Linked DNA regions of Homo sapiens: region 1 is linked to region 2. Evidence: promoter capture Hi-C in human tissues and cell types (Jung and others, 2019). All regions are on one chromosome and are shown on one strand. The core of a region is centred on a gene start or on the middle of the fragment in contact, and the rest is flanking DNA. Distances in the headings are between cores, read along the strand shown.

Evidence for each region. Contacts are between HindIII fragments. The study calls those that stand out against the background at their distance.
Region 1: a contact is called between a fragment that was not itself captured here and the fragment with the promoter of SEPHS1 in region 2, in 1 of the 25 tissues and cell types used here (dorsolateral prefrontal cortex).

Annotation. Positions count from the first base shown.
Region 1 is chr10:14,871,967-14,875,477 of GRCh38, reverse strand. It overlaps a transcript of SUV39H2-DT not described here. Among named protein-coding and RNA genes, the nearest start is that of SUV39H2-DT, 4.9 kb to the left of the region's middle. The HindIII fragment of the contact is 4,340 bases long and covers 1-3,511 here.
Region 2 is chr10:13,346,394-13,349,619 of GRCh38, reverse strand. SEPHS1 (selenophosphate synthetase 1) reads left to right here and starts at 1,327. Exons shown (of 9, transcript NM_012247.5): 1 at 1,327-1,620. RefSeq lists enhancers at 1-351, 352-1,142 and silencers at 1,212-1,431, 1,562-2,391. The HindIII fragment of the contact is 27,088 bases long and covers 1-3,226 here.

The sequences.
Region 1 (3,511 bases), core at 117-2,616, 1.5 Mb before region 2:
TGGCTATAAATGGAGAGAGAAATAAAAAGCCACTGAGAGACACACACCAGGGTCCTCAAGGGAAAAGTAGAGAATCATGACCCTTTCCCAGTATTTTTTTCACAAAGACCACATGATTTCTGGAGTGTCTCCTCTTCTACTGAAATAAACGTTCTCTTCTGAGAGGCAAAGAATCATAGAATGAACACTAGATTAAGAATGTGAATTTAAATGAAATAATCCATGTAATGTGCTTAAAATAGTAAGCAGTCAAGAAAAATTAAGTTTACAAAATAAGCATCTGAATGTTAGTTCAAAATCCACCATTTATTCACTGTGAGACCTTGGATACTTTATTTAACTGCTGTGAATCTATTATCTGGAAAACAGAAATAACCAAGGCCATATTACTCTCTACATAGTACAACTACTCGTGGAATTGTGATGAGATCAAAATTTTAAAATGAGATAATGAATTAAAGCAAATAACAGTATTATATGGTCACTCATTATCATTTTAGATATTGTGATTTTTCCCATAGAACTTTTATGCTAGGATACTTTTAAGAATTCTTATACATATAAAAGCTTTCAGTTTGTGATGAATATTTTGTGACCTCCTGTTAAGGACTGAACGTTTTCATCTCTGAAAAATTCCAGTGTTGAAATCCTCGCCCCCAAAGTGATTATATTGGGAGGTGGGGCCTTTGGGAGGTGATTAAATCATGAAGGTGGAGGCTGCATGCATGGGATTGACACCCTTACAAGAGGGACCCTTCAGAGCTCTCTCGCCCTCTATCCTCCGTGTGAGGTTATAAGGATAGCTGGCAACCCAAAAGGGAGCCCTCATCAGAACCCGGCCCCGCTTCCAGCCTGGTCCAGCACCCGAACTGACTTCCAGCCTCCAGAACTATGATACATTTCTGATGTTTACAAGCCACCCCCCAGACTATGGTACTTTATTATAGCAGTCCAAACTAAGACACGTTCCAAGACTTTCACATCATAGGTATTTCTTCCTATTTTTATATTTGGCTCTGTTCTTCAGACAATGTCAGATGTAAATAGGCAAAACTATAATTTGACATAAGCTTTTAGTGGTAAAAGTGTTTAAGTTTAAATATGTATATATTTACTATCTGGCCTTTTATATAAAAAACTTGACCCGAGGTAGATTATTGAAACTTCCACAATAAAATGACTTCTTCAAAACTTTTCTTCCATATTTATGTAATACTTCACTTACTTGACTACTTTCCCCACATTTAAATATATACATATTTAAACTTCATGAAATATATTTACATTTCATGAGTATAAATTGCATGTATCTCATGTACATCCCAATTATCTTTGCTACGACATACATATAACAAAGATAACTAGGATGTACATGAAAAGATTATCAAGGTACTCACCAAAAATCTTTATAGTTACTATTCTGGATGGTAGAATAAAGAATGTTTTATATTTTTTTCTTTTGGAATTTGAATTTTATATTGACTATGTATCATTCTTACAAACAAAAAATTTAAAGCTATTTTCACCTTGAAAAATAAAAAAACACTAGAAAATTTTGTCAGCAAATCTTTCAAAAATTCACAAGGAAAAAACTTATCACCTGAGGGTACGAAAAAATGTGGAAGAATTTCATTAGGCAGTAGAGGACTTATTGATGACAATTTCAAATTTGATAAGTCTAGGGGAAAACAACCAAACAAACATGCAAAGCTGACCAATAAAGTCAGCAGTGCTATTCCTTTCCTTCCTTATGTTTCTAAACAAACCATAAAATATACAACAGATGTACTACTCACTGGCCATTGTCCTGTAGCATACAAACATGACATTATTTTTTCTTCCACATAATTCATTTATTTGATAAGCACTTAGGAACACCCACTATGCTCACGTACTGTTGTAGGGGCTGAGGCAAAATGGTGACTAAGACTGAGAGTATCTGCTCTCACAATGCTTAATAATCTAGTGGGGAAAGGAGCCAATAAGTAAAGCATTACATAAATATAGCAGAAAACTTTAGAAGAAGTTATTTTATTCTATAAGTTTCAATAATGTACTTTAGGTGTCAAATTTTTTATGTAGAAGGCCAGACAGTAAATATTTTAAGCTTTGTGGGCCACACAGCCTTTGTGCAACTATTCATCTCTGCCACTCTAATGTGAAAACCGCCACAGCCAGCCCATATACAATTAGAGTGTGACTGTGTTCTAATAAAATTTTATCTATGAAAACAGGGGTGAGATAGATCTGACTCACTGGCCATAGTTTGGCACCCCAGATCTATTTTAAAAGCTAACAATAACCACAAAATAAAATCCTAAAAGTTTTTCAAAGCATAATTGAAAGCATGTAGACCTAGCAGTAGAACTAGTTCAGTTGGTGTTTTCCTGTGTTCTGAAGCCACTGAATTGCTTATACCAAAATCACTTTTATTTCAAATTTTCTATGACTTTGGAAAAAGATCCTAAGAAATAACTAATAACTTAGGACAAAGAGTACACCTTTAAAGCTGCTTCTGTATTTAAAGACTCTGTGGACTTAAAATCATATCTGAATTCTCTTCATGGTTCTGTCAATAATTTGATGCAAAATAATGATGAAAAAATTTAAGTTTGGTTTCTGGATCTTTAAAAACTTTTAGAAGGGTACTACCAACTAACTCCATAGCAGCCAACATGAATAAGTTTTCACTGGAACCCACTGAGGATCTCAGGGCTCTAGTGAATATTCTCTGGTAAACAGAATGTGGCTAGCCTTCTCTTCAAACTAAAGAGATTTTTTTTTTCTTTTTTTGAGATGGAGTATCACTCTGTCACCCAGGCTGCAGTGCAGTGGCGTGATCTCGGCTCACTGCAACCTCTGCCTCCTGGGATCAAGGGATTCAGTCTCAGGAGTTGCTAAGACTACAGGCGCACACCACCACGCCCAACTAATTTTTTGTATTTTTAGTAGAGATGGGGTTTCACCACGTTGGCCAGGCTGGTCTGGAACTCCTAGCCTCAAGTGATCCTCCCATCTCTGCCTCCCAAAGTGCTGGAATTACAGGTGTAAGCCACCGTGCCCAGCCCTAAAGAGATCTTTTAATTTCAAAAGAAAAACATGTTTGTTGGAAGAAATAAACTAAACAAAACTGTAAAAAGTAAAAGCCCCTCTCCTAGTTGTTGAGTTTATCAGTTTACTTAAAAAATGGCTGTCGCTTATGCCTGTAATCCCAGCACTTTGTGGGGCTAAGGCGGGAGGACTGCTTGAGACCAGCAGTTTGGGACCATCCTGGGCAACATAGCAAGACCCGTCTCTCCAAAAAAAAAAAAAAAAAAAAAAAAATTGCCAGGTGTGATGGTGCACATCTGTAGTCCCGGCTACAAGGGAGGCTAAGGCAGGAAGACTGCTTGAGCCCAGCAGTTCGAGGCTGCTGTGAGATATGATCCCACCACTGCACTTGAGCCTCGGTGGCAGTGCAAAATCCTGTCTCTAAAAACAAAAACCAACAAAAAAAGGCATCTTACTTTCT
Region 2 (3,226 bases), core at 78-2,577:
CCCTTCCCTGGGCTGCATTCCCCTTGCTTTCAGTTCAAGTACATCTCCGGGCTTGACTAGTACAATACCCTCTTAATGAGAACCGTGACCCTGTCTTCCCCTCTGGGAGAAGCCATCCTCCAGTGGCAGGCGCCTGTAATCCCAGCTACTGGGGAGGCTGAGGCAGGAGAATCACCTGAACCCAGGAGGCGGAGGTTGCAGTGAGCCGAGATCGCGCCACTGCACTCCAGCCTGGCGACAGAGTGGGACTCCGTCTCAAAATAAATAAATAAATAAATATAAAATAAAAGAATGCAGACTAACACGTTCTTTGCAAACTTACTACAGGGTATGAAGAAAGTACACAAAGACAGGAGCAGCCTGTCTTCGAGGTGGCATCACTTCTGCATCCAGCCCAGGATTAAAACCCGGAGCAACTGGCAAGCGGAAATGTTAACGAAAAGGGCATCTGCGTAGCGTGCCAACCTGCCGTGCCACGTAAAGCACGGTCCAGTGACCCAAAACATTTCTGCTCCCAAATAACATTTGGAAAATGCTGACCTACTGCCTAGAAAAGTTCGATCGGCATTCCTGCACACTGCTGTTTTAGAGAGAAGCCCTAAACGATATCTGAAAGTATTTGGTTTATTTTCATCAGCAATGCTTTAGAATCTCGAAAGCCCAGAAAAAAGTTATTTCACGACGTGAAGCTCCCCCCTCGATGTCAATTCGAACACATCCAGGGTTGCGGCTGCCATGTTCGCTCGAACATGTGCAGGACAAACAATGCAACCAGCGGGGAACCGTAAACCTTTTTCCTCGACTTCCTACCACGCACATGAAGTGTTCAAGAAACTTTGCAGGACGTCTCCACATTTCACGAGGCTCCCGTGAACTCCGGAGCCGAGCTAAACAATAGGAAGGACAGATGCTGGGAGTCCCCAAGCATCTAACGCGCCGTTTGTGTTTTCAAAAAACCTCTGCCTGGCGCCCAGGCGGCTTTTCCTGGGCTCCTAGCCTCCTGTGCAAATTGTTCCCATGGTCATTGTCTTCCAGGACGCTCCGCTGCGCACTCGGGGAGCGGGGACAGCGCCCCGCAGAGCGCCGCGCGGTCGAGCCCGGCCAGGTGGCGGAAACGTTCCCGGCCCTTGCAGCGGGGCCCGGGAAAAAGGTGGCCCGGGCGCCAAGGGCGGCTGCCAATGCAACTCGCAACTTTTGAAATCAATCCTTTTTTGCATCATGCAACGGATGCCACCGCTCCTCGGGTTTGCAACCCCCCACCCCTCCCCCGAGACCAATCATTGCCGCGCTCGGGGCTGCACGGCGCCCCCGCCCCCTTCCCGGGCCGCACGCCGCCACCCAGCAGCCAGGGCCGCCTCTTAAAGGGAGGTGGCCGGCCTTAAAGGACCCCCGCGCGCCCAGCCGGCGGGAGCGCGGCGGCCCGGCTCCCGCAGGGCCGCGCCGAGGCAGGCGAGCCCCCGCGGCGCCCAGGCGCGGGCCCGGGCCCCCGCCGCCGCCGCCGCCGCCGGGCGCGGCATTTTTATTCAGGCGACGCTTAAGGGAGCCCGGCCGCGCCCGGTGCATTGTGGGAGCGGCCCGCGGCCCGTTTTCGGGAGGAGGCGGAGGGCGCAAAGCGAGCCGGTAAGCGGCGGGCCCGGCGCGGGGGGGAGGCGCAGGCTTAAAGGGGAATCTGGGTCCGCAGGCCCGCGGCGGCCGTTGCAAATCCCCCTCCGGGCCGCCCGGGACCGCCGGGGAGCCGCGCGCCGCCGGCCCCGCCAGCCCTGCCTGGAGAGGGGCAGCGCCGGGCTTGGTGGGGCCGCTTTAAAAAAGAAGCGCCGCCCGCGCCGCCGCCGCCGCCGCGCGGGGCCGGGGAAGGAGGGAGGGAGGGCGGGGAGGAGCGGAGGGGAGGGCGGCGGCGGCCACGCAGGGGTTAATTTTTTCGCCCGCCGACATTTTTGCGCGGCGGCGGCGGCGGCCCGTGCGCGCGGCGGGAGCGGCCGGCCTGGGGTCGCGGGGTGCCTCCGGGGCCTCCCCGCCTCCCCTTTTCTCCGCGCGGGCCCTGTCGACCCGGGGCGGGTGCGTCCCGGCGTCCTCCCCGGCTCCTGGGCCGCACGCGCGGTGCCCGCCGGCTCCCGCCGCCTCCCGCCGGCCCGAACAGGGATGGCCCGGCCGGGGCCCCGAGCTGCCGCCTCCGCCCCGCCGCCGGCCCGCAGCCCGGGCCTGCTGGGCCTTCCGAGGCGGCGGCGAGGGCCTGAGCCTGAGCCTGAGCCCGAAGGTGTCCCCGGGTTCCTTGCTCCCCTCCCCGGCCGCCTCCGACGCGGGCGTCCTGGAGAGCGCGCCCCATTGTGCGGGGCCGGCGGGGAGGTAGGTCCGGGGTTGGCGGGGCAGCGCGCCGGGCCCACCCCGCTGACCGGCTCCCCGGCTCCCCACGCTCGTTGGAAGAAAAAAAAAAACCAAACCATGGAAATGTGCCCGGGAAGGAAAGGGCTAAACGTTGCTTTAAATATTCATGCCATTGTTTTAAAGGCGTAAACATGTGGCTGCGGGGTCGCCGGGCACCGTCCCTTATTAATGCAAATGGATCCCCCTGGTTCCCTAATCACTGCACATTTCCCCCAGAACCCCCTCCCCCTTCCCATGCCCTCCAAAAATGTAAGAATCTAGTACTTTTTTCATTAGGATGTGAGGCTGATTTGTGTCCTTAGTACCATTTGGAATTTTAAATCTGAGCGCCTTCCTGATACAAGGTGTTTTAAACTTTTTTCCACCCTTAAAACTCTTGAGAAGATAGTAATTTAAAAGGAAGTGATAGCCACACAATTCCCCTCCCCACCTTTTTGGGAGCCAGGAGAGGAATAGATAGGAGGTAGGAAAATAACTGGATGCCTCGTGAGTTGGATTTTTTCTTTTTCTTTTTTTTTTCCTGGTAGGGGTGAGGCTGTGTTAAATGCGAGGTGTTTTTTGAGGAAAGGACTTTGTTGTTTTTGTTGAAAACGCCTTCCAAGTCAAAGTGGTATTCAAACTTTCCCATAACTCTAAGATGGCTTCAAAATTCTCGTCTCTTGTCACTTGCGGCCAGCGCCTGCTCTTTTTGGGCAGGGAGACTTCTTGGAATCGTGTTCGAAGGCTGACTCCTGCTCAGTTGTTACGTTTCCCACCGAAATCATTGCTCATCCCAAACCGTGTTTTTGTGAAGACGGTTTGGATTACTGCCCAAACTCGGGCTTCGTGAGATTTATATGAGCGA